Linked DNA regions of Homo sapiens: all the other regions are linked to region 4. Evidence: promoter capture Hi-C in human tissues and cell types (Jung and others, 2019). All regions are on one chromosome and are shown on one strand. The core of a region is centred on a gene start or on the middle of the fragment in contact, and the rest is flanking DNA. Distances in the headings are between cores, read along the strand shown.

The links. Contacts are between HindIII fragments. The study calls those that stand out against the background at their distance.
Region 1: a fragment that was not itself captured here is called in contact with the fragment with the promoter of RNF182 in region 4 in 1 of the 25 tissues and cell types used here (hippocampus).
Region 2: a fragment that was not itself captured here is called in contact with the fragment with the promoter of RNF182 in region 4 in 1 of the 25 tissues and cell types used here (mesenchymal stem cells).
Region 3: a fragment that was not itself captured here is called in contact with the fragment with the promoter of RNF182 in region 4 in 1 of the 25 tissues and cell types used here (H1 embryonic stem cells).
Region 5: a contact is called between a fragment that was not itself captured here and the fragment with the promoter of RNF182 in region 4, in 1 of the 25 tissues and cell types used here (mesendoderm cells).

The regions. Positions count from the first base shown.
Region 1 is chr6:14,107,885-14,110,584 of GRCh38, forward strand. It overlaps LOC124901265 (a long non-coding RNA gene), which reads left to right and starts at 879. Exons shown (of 2, transcript XR_007059464.1): 1 at 879-1,354; 2 at 2,262-2,700. RefSeq lists a cis regulatory region at 744-1,531 and an enhancer at 1,168-1,307. The HindIII fragment of the contact is 4,101 bases long and covers 1-2,700 here.
Region 2 is chr6:14,087,850-14,090,549 of GRCh38, forward strand. No RefSeq gene overlaps it. Among named protein-coding and RNA genes, the nearest start is that of CD83, 29 kb to the right of the region's middle. RefSeq lists enhancers at 793-842, 879-1,380. The HindIII fragment of the contact is 4,114 bases long and covers 1-2,700 here.
Region 3 is chr6:13,773,022-13,775,721 of GRCh38, forward strand. No RefSeq gene overlaps it. Among named protein-coding and RNA genes, the nearest start is that of MCUR1, 40 kb to the right of the region's middle. The HindIII fragment of the contact is 9,980 bases long and covers 1-2,700 here.
Region 4 is chr6:13,923,668-13,926,367 of GRCh38, forward strand. RNF182 (ring finger protein 182) reads left to right here and starts at 1,285. Exons shown (of 3, transcript NM_152737.4): 1 at 1,285-1,356. RefSeq lists an enhancer at 180-680. The HindIII fragment of the contact is 4,770 bases long and covers 41-2,700 here.
Region 5 is chr6:13,794,417-13,797,116 of GRCh38, forward strand. All of the region lies in intron 6 of MCUR1 (mitochondrial calcium uniporter regulator 1), which reads right to left. Among named protein-coding and RNA genes, the nearest start is that of MCUR1, 19 kb to the right of the region's middle. The HindIII fragment of the contact is 3,316 bases long and covers 1-2,700 here.

The DNA.
Region 1 (2,700 bases), core at 174-2,673, 180 kb after region 4:
GTGAAATGAATGAGGAAGTTGGGCTGTGATTCTGGGCAAGAAGTTTCTAGAGAGAGGGACAAGCAAGCTCAAAGGTGCAGCAAGAAGCATACAAGCAGGAGATTTCAGCATAGAAGTTCCTGCCTTTAAAAAAAAAAAAAAAAAAGGCAGCCTGGCATGGTGGCTCACGCCTGTAATCCCAGCACTCTGGGAGGCCAAGGCGGGTAGATCACCTGAGGTCAGGAGTTCAAGACCAGCCTGGTCAACACAGTGAAACCCTTTCTCTACAAAAATTAGCTGGGCATGATGGCAGGTGTCTGTAATCCCAGCTACTCGGGAGGCTGAGACAGGAGAATTGCTTGAACCTGGGAGGTGGAGTTTGCAGTGAGCTGAGATCACACCATTAAACTCCAGGCTGGGCAACAGAGCAAGACTTCATCTCAAAAAAGAAAAGAAGAAAAGAGAAGAAAAGAAAAGAGAAGAGAAGAGAAAAGAAGAGGCTTGCTTTACATGGTCCTTGAAGGACTGTGTTGTGCCTGTGGAGAGACTTTCCACTAAGTGCCTCAAATCAAGCCTGAGACCAATATCTCTGTGTTTTGTTTTTGTGTCACTTGCTGGATTATGCGGTTTCTTCCTCATGTTCAACAAAGGAATTGTTTCACCTCCCTCTTTCCTCCTTGGCAGAGGATGGACACTCTCTCTACAGGCTTTTAGTTTCTAAGAGAAAAAAAGAAAGCAAAGACAAAGCACGAGAAATAAGAGTTATTTCTATTTATTTGGTTCATTCGGTGAACAAACAAGCCCATAACTGGAAAGTACAGGGTGACTAAGAAGTAGCCCTCAGGGAAAAACCTGATGGGAAATTTTATTTAAAAACACAATTTACATAGCCACACTTTGGGCTTTCCTTCCAGCCCTTCTGTGGTTCTCAATGGCCCATGGGTGTTCAGGCCTTAACGCTGGGGAGTGCCGCCAGCAGTGGAGGTGTTCGCGAAGGTTCTACTGGCTTGAGGGAAGGGCTGTGGTAATGGGAACCCGAGACCTGGAGGCCAGCAGATAAGAGCTCTCCGCTGGGGAGCAGAGTCAGAAGGGGCTGAGCACAGAAGGCTTGACTCTCAGCCAGAGCTCAACAAGGGGCAGCTGCTGCGGTAGTCCGTGGGCAGGCCTAGGTTAAGTGCGTTCTTTTCACTCAAAAGCCCTTCTCTGGAAAGGAGGCTCAGAAGGCACACTTGGGGCAGAGGGGAACCCCCGCCTTCCCCTTTTACAGAACTTCCTCATCCTGCAGATCAGTCCAGCCAGGAAGTCAGGCTGGGTAGAGAGCTGGGTGCCTGGGAGTACCATGGGTTTTGCCCCCATTGCTGGCAGCAGTCATCAGGTGAGCTATTTCCAGCCTATCACAAACTTCTTTCTGCCTATTTATGATCCATTCAGCATCTGACAGGTGTCTAAGGCAGACAGCAGAAACGTGTTCACTGGCCCCCCTCCCTCGGGACTTTTTCTTAAAGGGCATGCCTTACTCTCATTTCCTTTTTCTCCTAATCCTCTCTCCTCCCCTGAATTCTCCCATCACTAGTTCTCTCCCTCCTTGTAGAACCACCTTCTGCCCCTGCATCCCAGTCCCCCCAGACCCTCAGTGAGAAACTGTGTAGAACTCCAGAGAGGCAAGCAAGGTCCACTGTGAGAAATGGTATTCAATGGCCAGGCACGGCGGCTCATGCCTGTAATCCCAGCACTTTGGGAGGCTGAGGTGGGAGGATCACTTGAGCTCAGGAGTTCGAAACCAGCCTGGGCAACATAGTGAGACACTCCCCCAGCAACTCCAGAAAAAGGAAACTGTATTCTACTGTGTAAACTTCTTGAGAATGGTCTTTTCTTATGCACCACTTACCAGCTGCTTAGTGAATGTTTAATAGTGAATTAAAACTTCCCTCTCTCCACACCCGTTCCCCATGAGTCCCTGACTTGGGAGGGGCAGGTGAGAGAACTAATAAAACATTCTAGAGCTTTCTCCCCTGGCTCCCAAACTCTGACCAGCTTCTCAAATGTCTAGGTTCACAATGTTCTGCCATGCTCTGTCAGGATGCTCTCTGAGATAAATTAAATGATGAAGCCCTGGCCGTGATGCAAATTGCAATCAGACAGGAAGGTTTGAGGGTCAGAAGAAAGGGAGAGGGACCTGGCTAGCTTTGTTCCTTGCCCAAGGTTACCAAATGCTTGCCTTGGCAGTGAGAATGCGTAACCACAATGTTTTCTAATGATTTTCGGTTTTTCTCTTTCTATAGTCACAGCAGAGAAAACATGAAGGTGACAGCCAGTGGTTTCAGAAAGGCAAGAAGCTCTTCCTCTGCATTCACCTTTCTTTTCCCTTTTCACTGAAAGCGAAGATCAACATACGGGTAAGCCCCTCTCGTACATTCGAGGAAGAACACAAGTCAGGACTCAGAGCTACTGAATTTCCACTCCCACTCCCACGCCAGACACACGCTGCGAAATACTGTCTGGTTTTTTATGATAAGGTAGCTGTAGTTAGCCTGAAAATGCTTCCTCAGGAATGGCCTTCATCAGAGATCTCTTCATACTCAGTATGAGGACATGAGGAAGAATATGCTACGTGTGAAAATACACCTTGGCGTTCAACTCTGTGGGTTAAGAAGGGGTTCCTGTGATGGCAAGCTTTTAGGTTATTGAGCAGCAGATTGGATACTTCTGTTTTTCAACAAC
Region 2 (2,700 bases), core at 123-2,622, 160 kb after region 4:
TCTCCCAAGCAATTTATTGGACAGGTCTAGAGGTTTGCAAAATGGATTTTATTCCATTTATATTTTGGTTCTTAATCCTCCTTTATGCCAAATACTTCACATTTCAATTTGGTATTTCAGAATCTATTTAAATAAATCACTAGAGCTTAATGGAAAATCAAAATCAAATTAAATAAATGGGCTAACTATTCAGCTGCTAAGTTTTACTTCAGCCATTACAAGGTTAGGAAAAACCACGGAGCAATTTATAACTAACCCGACTGCTCAGGGAGAGACCTCTATATCAGCTGTCCCCTCCTGAGCATACTTAACCCATCTCAAATGACACATGGAGAAAACATCAGTTCTTTGACAAATACCTACACAAGAACAATTTAAATTGCAAACCCAAATCAATATCAAACACACATCCTGCTGCATTTTAAGTAGAAATAGGGGAGATAGCAATGTAGAATTCATTGCAAATCATAAAAGTTTATTTACCAAGCTTAATGCTCAGAAGGGAATTAAACTCCTTAAAACTGAGAGAGTGTTATATAATGCTGAGAATTAAGGGAGAAGTAGCAAGTCTGAGTTAAGAAACCATGTTTTCCTGAACCCATCTTAACCTTCAGGGTCTCCAAGGTTCACAAGCATCTCTAGAACTCTCTGTTTACTCTCCCACTTTCTTCTTTATTAGCAATGCTGCTATTCCATCTTTAGGACCACTGCCAGACCAAAACTTCCTGAAAAGGTAATTTCCCTTCATCTCTTAAAGCTTTCTTGTCCTTGTTTTCCCAATCCATCTTCCTTTTCTTCTCTTTCTTTACTTCAATGTGCTGAAGGCACTTTTAGCTGGTGGTATATTAGGCAAATTTTGTTGCAGTAACAACCCCAAATTTTAATGATTTATGAAAATGAATCATTTCTCAGTCCTGGGACTGTAGGTCAGCTGCGCCTCAGCTGTGTCTCACCTAAACTTTTTGGCTTCCTCTAGACTTGATGGGGTTTGGTTGTAAGCTTCAGGTCAGATTCAAGTCTGCTTTGTGTGTTTTTCATTCTGAGACCCAGGCTGAAGAAGCAGTGGCCGCCTGGGGCATCCTTTTCTTATGGAGAGTAGCAGGAGTGCCAGACAGGAAGCGAAAAGACATAATGCCTCTGAGTCTCTCTTTGTGCTGGCATGCCACCATTGTGCCACACCCCATTCTTCAGTCAACGCACATCCTATGGCCCAGCCCAAGGTCAAGGGATGGGGAGATGTACTCCATTCAGGAGGGTGGACCAGGAACATGAAGACTGACTGAAGAATAATATAATCTACAATAGATGGGAGAAGGTGGAGTACAGTGATCCCTCAATCACTCATATAAAGAAACATAAAATAGTTCTCCAACATTTATTATGCTAGGGATGCTCTGCCCTTATTTCAGCACTCAAGGTTGCCTCAACTTCTCTGGAAAGAGAAGGTGGACAGAAATATAACTGGTCAATAGTCATCATAATAATGCTTGGAATTTATTGTGCAACTGCCACGTGCACAGTTACTTTACATATATTCATGTAATGAGTACCCATATTGGACTGCAACAAATGTAACTTTCTATGACTAAACTTAATTTCTATTTCAGTTTCTGTTTAGTGCTCTCATTCCAAAGCGTTTCAGAAATCTAATTTTTTTTTTTTTTTTTTGAGACGGAGTCCCGCTCTGTCACCCAGGCTAGAGTGCAGTGGCTCGGTCTCGGCTCACTGCAAGCTCCGCCTCCTGGGATCACACCATTCTCCTGCCTCAGCCTTCCGAGTAGCTGGAACTACAGGCGCCCGCCACCACGCCCGGCTAATTTTTTGTATTTTTAGTAGGGACGGGGTTTCACCGTGTTAGCCAGGATGGTCTCAGTCTCTTGACCTCGTGATCCGCCCGCCTCGGCCTCCCAAAGTGCTGGGATTACAGGCGTGAGCCACCGCGCCCAGCCCAGAAATCTAATCTTTTTCCCCGCAAGGGTGGAGGTGGTGGGGCGGGGCGTGGCGTGGTTATCACCTGTCGGTGCCGGCGTGGTCCTGTGCGTCCTCTCTCCTGCCTGGCCTCCAGTCATCCATGTGTGTAGTACTACCGCTGCCCCCACCTCATCCTGATGAGGCCCTGTGGATCTGGCTCTCTTCGTCACTCCTTTGCCCTTCTGGGGAGCAGGGACAATATCTGGCTGTGTTGGCCCAGTCCCTTTCTGCCTTGCTATGCCACCTAGCAATTTCTGCTCTATTGCTTCCCACCATGCTGGGCTCAAGGGACTTTGAGGTCTTATGGTCTTCGAAGGTTTCACACATGTTCTTGGGTCTTTAAAGCTATTGGGGTTCCTATCAGTCATCCTTTTCTCAGTTGGCTTGGCCCAAGATGGGGTGGAGAGGAGCAGGAGGCAGCGCTTTTTCTGGAACCATATTGCAATGATTAACTCTCTTGATTCTTATCAGTCTCTTCTCTCAATCCGTGGAACTGTTTCTGGGTTCAACTGGGGTGATTTGGCTTTATGGAGTGTTCCCAAATGTGTGGTTTATGAGATAATTTTATGTCCTGATACCTTCATATTTATCGCAGGTGAGAAAGTTCATTTTGAGGCAGATGAAGTCACTCTCCAACCTTGACTTAGTGAAGAAGTGGAAAAAGGAGAATTTGTAGGATTCAAAAGCTGAAACTTTCTCCTCTAGGCTAAACTGGCTCTACAAAAAAAG
Region 3 (2,700 bases), core at 1-2,500, 150 kb before region 4:
CTGTATCTAGCTCAAGGTTTGTAAACACAGCAATCAGCACCCTGTGTCTAGCTCAGGGTTTGTGAATGCACCAATCGACACTCTGTATCTAGCTACTCTGGTGGGGCCTTGGAGAACCTTTGTGTCGACACTCTGTATCTAGCTAATCTGGTGGGGACGTGGAGAACCTTTGTGTCTAGCTCAGGGATTGTAAACGCACCAATCAGCGCCCTATCAAAACAGACTGCTCGGCTCTACCAATCAGCAGGATGTGGGTGGGGCCAGATAAGAGAATAAAAGCAGGCTGCCGGAACCAGCAGTGGCAAACCGCTCGGGTCTCCTTTCACGTTTTTGGAATGTGTTTTGCAATAAACCTTGCTAGTGCTTACTCTGTGGGTCTACATTGCTTTTTTGAGCTTTAATAGTCACTACAAAAATCTGCATCTTCACTCATAAGGCAGCGAGACCACGAACGCACCAGAAAGAAAAAACTCCAAACACATGTAAACATCAGAAGGAATAAGCTCCTGACGCGCCACCTTCAGAGCTGTAACACACCGCGAGGGTACGTGGCTTCATTCATAATTTCAATGAGATCAAGAACCTACCAGTTCCAGACATACTAGCGCTTTGGGAGACCAAGGCAGGCGGATTTCTTGAGTCCAGGAGTTCATAGACCAGCCTGGGGAACATGGCAACACTATCTACAAAAAAATACGAAAACTAGCTAGACATGGTAGTGCGTGCTTGTAGTCTCAGCTATATGAAGGGCTGAGGTAGGAGAATGGCTTGAGCATGAGGAGGCAGAGGTTGCAGTGAACTGAGATTGCACCACTGCACTCTGGGTGACAAGTGAGACCCTGTCTCAAAAACAAGGGTACTGAATCAAACAAGTATTTAAGGCCTAAACTCAGGGTGACTCTGAGACCCAAACAGTGGGCTCCATGTCAACATCAACCCCTTTATACGAAGATTCCCCAATAAAAATATAAATATTCACAATCACCCTGGGGTCTGCATGGAAGATTGATGTATAACACTTGAGAGCTTACGGATATGTCCATGGGTTACCTACGTTGTTTTAATACCTACTACAGTCTGTACCCTAGATACTCGAAGAAGAATGTTCTTTTACTAGGATACTGCATCTTAGTAAATTCACCTTAGTACCCTGGGGTGGTTGCCAGGGAGGGTACTAACAGAAGTTTGCTTGTTTGGTGGTTGGGCAAGTAATATTACTAGTAATTACTAGCAAAGGATTCCAGTTATTGCATGCAGACTACACATTTTATATGTAGGTATGGGGTTTTACTATTTATTTATTTATTTAGAGATGGAGTCTCACTCTGTTGCCCAGGCTGGAGTGCAGCGGAATGATCTCGTCTCAGGGCAACCTCCGCCTCCCAGGTTCAGGTTGTTCTCCTGCCTCAGTCTCCCGAGTAGCTGAGATTACAGGCACCTGCCACCATGCCCGACTAATTTTTTTGTATTTTTAGTAGAGACGGGGTTTAACCATCTTGGCCAGGTTGGTCTTGAACTCTTGACCTGTGATCCACCTGCCTCGGCCTCTCAAAGTGCTGGAATTACAGGCGTGAGCCACTGCACCTGGCCAGGGTTTTATTGTTTAGAAAATATTTTCATGTATTTGACCTCATTTGATCCTTACCACATGTGGTCAGCCAGGTAGGGTATCTATTCCCTGGAATCAGAATGCTTCGGTTTGACTCTGACGTCACCATTTATTAGCTATGTGTTCTTGGGCAAGTTACTTCAACTTTTTTATTACTATTTTTTTTTTTTTTTTTTTTTTTTTTTTGAGTCAGAGTCTCACTCTGTCACCCAGGCTGGAGTGCAGTGGCACAATTTCGGCTCACTGCAACCTCCACCTCCTGGATTCAGGTGATTCTCCTGCCTCAGCCTCCTGAGTAACTGGGATTATAAGTGCACGCCACTGTGCCTGGCTAATTTTAATATTTTTAGTAGAGACAGGATTTTGCCATGTTAGCCAGACTGGTCTTGAATTCCTGACTTCAGATGATCCACCTGCCTCGGCCTCCCAAAGTGCTGGGATTACAGGCATGAGCTACCACGCCAGGCCCACTTTTTTCTTTCTTTCTTTCTTTCTTTTTTTTTTTTAAATAAATAGAGATGGAGTTTCCCTATGTTGCCCAGGCTGGTCTCAAACTTCTGGGCTCAAGGGATCCTCCCAACTTCACCTCCCAAGATGTTGGGATTATAGGTGTGAGCCACCTCATCCAGTCTACTGAAACTTTCTATACCTCAGTATCTTCATCTGCAAAATAGAGATCACTGTAGTACTTACTTCATAGGGATGTGATGAAGATTAAATGAGATTGTGATTACTTTAAAACTATGCCTGGGCCGGGCGCGGTGGCTCACGCCTGTAATTCCAGCACTTTGGGAGGCTGAGGCGGGTGGATCACAAGGTCAGGAGTTCGAGACTAGGCTGGCCAACATGGTGAAACCGTGTCTGTACTAAAAATACAAAAAAAAAAAAAAAAAAAAAATTAGCCAGGCATCGTGGGAGGCACTTGTAATTCCAGCTCTTGGGAGGCTGGGGTAGGAGAATTGCTCGAACCCGGGAGGCGGACATTGCAGTGAGCTGAGATCAGCCACTGCATTCCAGTCTGGGTGACAGAGCAAGACTCTGTCTCGGAAAAACAAACAAACAAACAAAAAAACTATGTCTGGAGGCCAGGT
Region 4 (2,700 bases), core at 35-2,534:
TGGCCAGTCTCTCCGAGGAACAAACTGTTTTCCTTTTCCACCATGAAATAGATCTTATCTTTTCATTAGTTAATATAGGTGTACCTTCAAATGGCAATAACATTGTTCTGCTTTGTGGCTTCTCAAGTAGTAAACCCAGAAAACATCAGCTACCGTGGATTTTATTATAAATCATTGACATTCCTTTGGTGATTCACAAATGCCAAAAAATAAATGTCATGTTCCCCAGGGTTTGAAGAAAGACACTGTAGCTTTTGGATTCAGCAACGGATCTTTCAAGAAAACAGTATGGAGGGATGACTCACTCCCCCCATGGAGGCTGCCCTCTAGTTCGTCCTTTAGAGGAAGCATGACCAAGGGTCTGCTGGTACTTTTCTCTCCCTCTCTAAGAATTTCCTCAGGAGAGGAAAAAGTTAGCTTTCTTTTCTCTGCTCCTGAGTGCCATGGCCTGCAGTACGTGACCAGTCCTTGGCACAGAGTCACTCAGGGCTCATGGTAGATGCTTAGCGGTCACAGCCAGTAGCTGCGCAGTGTGGCAGCAGCTGAGATCCATACTGCAGCCTGAAAGTTGTGTTTCAGCTTCTGAGGTTACAAGTGTATCCAGTGTTTACATCAGAGATAAAGCCCCCTTTCCCCTCTCTCCTACGGGAGCCCTCAACAAGACAGATACACGGGTTGGGTGGAGTGAGACCACATCCAGCAGAGGCAAAGCTTGCTAAAAGAGAGAGGAGGAGGAGGGGGAGAGGGAGGAGGCGGCACGGCGTCCCTTGGCAGCTCCGTGCATGCTGCGGCAGTTGCAACAGGAGAACCGAGTACCAGTTGCTCAACACTTTATCACTTTGCATTGCTCTTTCTCCTCCCTTAAGTGAATTTCCATTTTGAGGGTACAGCTCCACAGGAGAAAGGTGTGGTGGTGGTAGTGGTGGAGGGTGTCTGTGGGGGGGATGGTGGTGCGACGGGAGTTGGAATGTCCAGTGTGGGGAAGCAAAGGAGTGCCTACTAGGATGCGAATACCACTTGGCCCTGGGCTCGCTCCGCTTTAGCCTTCCCCTCTCGCTGGGGAGAAACAGGCGGTTTGTGAGGGAGACTGAGAGAGGGGCGTGTTTGTGGTGGTGGCGGCCCATCGGGGGTCCTTGTCCTCTCCGAATACCCGGACTGCTGAGGGGAAGGGCCGGGGGGGCCCCGGCGGTTGCCATGGTGACGCAGGGTCGGCGGCTCAGCGCCGTAGAGACAAAGCCGCCCGCCCGCCAGCCCGCTAGCTCCTCGCGCGAGCTCCTCCTCCACGGGAACCTCCCTCCCCTCCCAGGCGCCGCCGCAGCCGGAGCGGCTCCCGGGCCCTGGGCCGCCGCCGGCCAGGTAAGGCGATCGCGCCCGCGGCCGGGGAGGGGTCGGCGGGACGCCGGGCCTCCCCAACGCTGGGGCAGCAGCCAGCCCCGCAGTCCTGGACGGCGCCGGGCCGCCCAAGCGCGCCGAGGAGAGGGGGCGGCAAACTTCGGGCCGAGCGGCGCCGGGGCCCGCGCGCGGAGTCTCCCTCCGGGCACCACGGGGGCCGCCGTCCTGGCACCAACTTGAGGGGCTGTGCGGCGGAGGGCGGCTGCGGAGCGCCCGCGCGGGCTGCACCTGCTCAGGGAGCTGCCCCTCTGTTGTTGTTGTTATTTTCCTTCTTGGCGTGCCATCGAGGCTTTTGGGGGAAAAAAAGGTATGAAAGTATTTACCTTTGGACTTTCATGTTTCATGGCATTCTCTTTGAGGAGGGGTTGGGAGGGTAGTAAGAGGGACAAGCGAAAGATTTTTACGAATCTCTGAAAAGTGAGCCCATTTTTATGCCTGTGGCTGAAGCATTTTGAGGAGGCTTCTGAAGTTCGTTTGGATATTGAATCGAAAGACCTTTTTTTCTTTGGAAGGTGCAGTTGCACCTATAACTGGATGGTAAGGGTAGCCCGGCTTTCCCCGACTAGCAAGACCAGAATGTAGAGCAGTACCGATACTTTGTCAAGGAGATACTTGGCACCGAGGTCATTGCTTTTGTTTCTAGAAGGTATTGTGTTCATGCTGTAAGGAACTGGAAAGTGCCTTTTGTTTTTATGTGTAGGGAGGCAATCCAAAGCACCTCTGGAGGCAGGTAGCTGGGCGGTGTTTGCATCGGTGTTTATGAGTGGGATGATGAGGACCACGATGCGGTTGCCACTGGGGCACTGGATAGGTTATAGGTACCTTTCTCAGTGGCCCCAACCCTTGCAATCATTTCGTGATAGTTTGTTGCAGACGCGAAGCACAGATTTAAATTGTGACTGTGAAGACTTTTTTTTTTGGTACTTAGACATCATCTTACATGTAGTAATATGAAAGAAAACAGATACATTTTCAGAAATACAGTTGATCAATTCAGAAGGAAATTGTATATATGTTAATAAGATTTGTTTTAAATCATATTTAAACAATATGAGATGTCATATTGATAACTGGAAAATAATCTAACATATAAAATTGTATATCCAACTTAGTAAAATAATGTATAAGTTGGAATAGGTCATTTAAAGAACTATATGGAATGCAAGAAATTATATTTTTGCTAGAGAGTAATTAATGAAAACAGTACCACTGATCATTTTGAATTGCAGTTAAGTTGATTGGAATTCTGCATATTACAGCTACTTGAGGTGTCAGGCAAAGAGTGATTATTTAATATTCCTCTTCCCT
Region 5 (2,700 bases), core at 37-2,536, 130 kb before region 4:
TTTTGAGAGGGTTGAAAATGGAGACTCAACTCAATTTAGGAGCTATCCCATCATAACTAGTAGCAAAACACGTCACTACTTGAGTCTCAACAAAAGACAGAAAAGGTATGAAGTTGGGGAACAAATAGCTGCCAAGGATTATTATTCTATGACAAAGACATTGTGTTGTGATTATAAAATACAATGTAAATACATAAATACACTAACTCATCACATGTTGGGTTTTTTTTTTTTTGGCTTGGTTTTTTGTTTTGAGATGGAGTCTCACTCTATTCCCAGGCTGGAGTGCAGTGGCTTGATCTGGGGTCCCTGCAACCTCTGCCTCCCAGGTTCAAGCAATTCTCCTGCCTTAGCCTCCTGCACATGTTGGTTTTAATAACAATAAAAAAACCCACTTGGGCGTAGCCATAATCCAGCGTTACTAAAGGAACTAATTCTACCCAGAGTTAAAGTATCTCGCCTTTTGGCTATTAATGTCAGTGAAAAGATTTAGTGCAGTTTTGTAGACAGTAAGATTGAAATCAGACTTATCTCCTTAGTAGTGGGCAACAAGATTTAATTGAGCATATGACAATCAGTAATTTGAATGACGACTTTTAAGAACTACATTAACCTTGTTATAGAAAGAAAAAGTTAATCCTTTGAAGTATATAGAAACTTCCTAGCTATAAAATATTCTCCTGGGACTACTGGGAGCTTAGAAGTAGAAAAAAAAAAAAGAAAAAAAAGAGAAAGAGAAACAAAAACAAAAACAAAAAACCCCAAAACCCTAAGCCAAGGAGTAGGTTGTAAAACCAAGAACAATGCTCTTTAAACCTCAGGGTTTCAGACCAGGAGAGCCCGATGCATCAGATCACCACTAGAGGGCGGCGTGGAACAAGATTTTGTGCACCACTAAACCTCAGTCTTCATTAACTCAACATTGACTCACCCACAAAAGAAGAGCCTAAATATTGACGCTGTCATGGTTTTAAAAATAACATCTATGTAGCTCTATATCCCCATGCCCCAGAAGTTTATATGCCATACTGCTTTTGGAACTGGCTGTAAATATCATAGTTAATTTGCAATTTAATATTTAACATTATAACTTTACCGAAAGAACGAGAGCCAGAAAACTCATCTTCACCAATGCATGTTACAAACACACTCGCTGTATAATTTACTACTGCCTTGTGCTTCAGAGTAATCCAAGTTTATGATTACCAAGAACAACCTCCCCGCTAGGTTACTAAATGACATAAATTCACTGGCTTGATGGGAGCTAAGCTATGATGCAAAGGCAAAAGGATGATACAGTGGACTTTGAGGACTTGGGGGAAAGGGTAGGAGGTGGGTGAGGGGCAAGACTACACATTGGGTACAGTGTACGCTGCTAGGGTGATGGGGGCACCAAAAATCTCAGAAATCACCTCTAAATAACGTCTTCATGTAACCAAACACCACCTGTTCCCCCAAAACCCACTGAAATTAAAATAATGAAACACTAAAAAAAGACTATAAGAACAATTCATAGTCACAGTTACTGTTCAAATATACCACAGACACTTTTGTGTCATGTAGAAAAAGTTACTATCATGATGGACAGGATTTAATTGAAACTCTGTGCATTGGTTGCTTTCTGGAGATTAAGGTCAATATAGTCATTCCAGATAAAGTAATTACATGTAAATCATATTTATCAGCATATTTAACTAGTAAATTCAAGTAAAATAAAATCAGGGTAAGTATTTTGAGTGCTGCATTATCAAGTCTGCAAAATATTATAAGCTTTACTTTTCTTATAAGAACACTGAATGAATCCACTCTATATATCCAATAATTTAAAAATATGAGTATTTGCAAGAATGAAATTTCATCATTTTTTTTCTTTTCTTTTTTTTTTTTTTGAGACAGGGTCTCACTCTGTCACCCAGGCTGGAGTGCAGTGGCGTGATCTCGGCTCACTGCAATCTCTGCCTCCTGGGTTCAAATGATTCTTCTGCCTCAGTCTCCCGAGTAGCTGAGACTACAGGTGGGCCATCACGCTGGGCTAATTTTTGTATTTTTGGTAGAGACAGGGTTTCACCACGTTGGCCAGGCTGGCCTCGAACTCCTGACCTCAGGTGATCCACCCACCTTGACCTCCCAAAGTGCTGGGATTACAGGTGTGAGCCACCATGCCCGGCAGAAATTTTTTCATTTTGGTTTAAAGACTAAAACTGTAATTGTGAAAAAAATTTCTGGAAAATTTTTGTTTGCTGGATGATGTTAATGACTTAAAATGAGTAAAATCTAAATGTTACATGATTGAAAAATGTACATATATATCAGCCTAGTTATGTTATTAAAATGACTCCATATAAAATTTTAAAAAAATTCACTGGCTTTAATCTACATTCATGCCCTGTATTTCCTGATGTCCTTGATGTAGTTTTTCCCAGGTTGGTTAGCTACACACAGTCATTTTCCTATATCAAGTGAATTCAGTTCTTCCTGAGTATACAACCCATAAAGATAAAGGTAACCAAAAGAGTTTCTCCTCTTCCAGACACCAGTGACATGCTATAGTCAGTAACTATTTAGTAACACTAGGTGATTTAATCTTTATGGGTGGAGACTGTTGTTGTAAGACTAGAAAGACAGGTAACACAGCCTTAATAATTATTTTGTATAACGAAGCTTGGATTAACTCTTGAAATCCAGTGGCAGTTCCAAAAC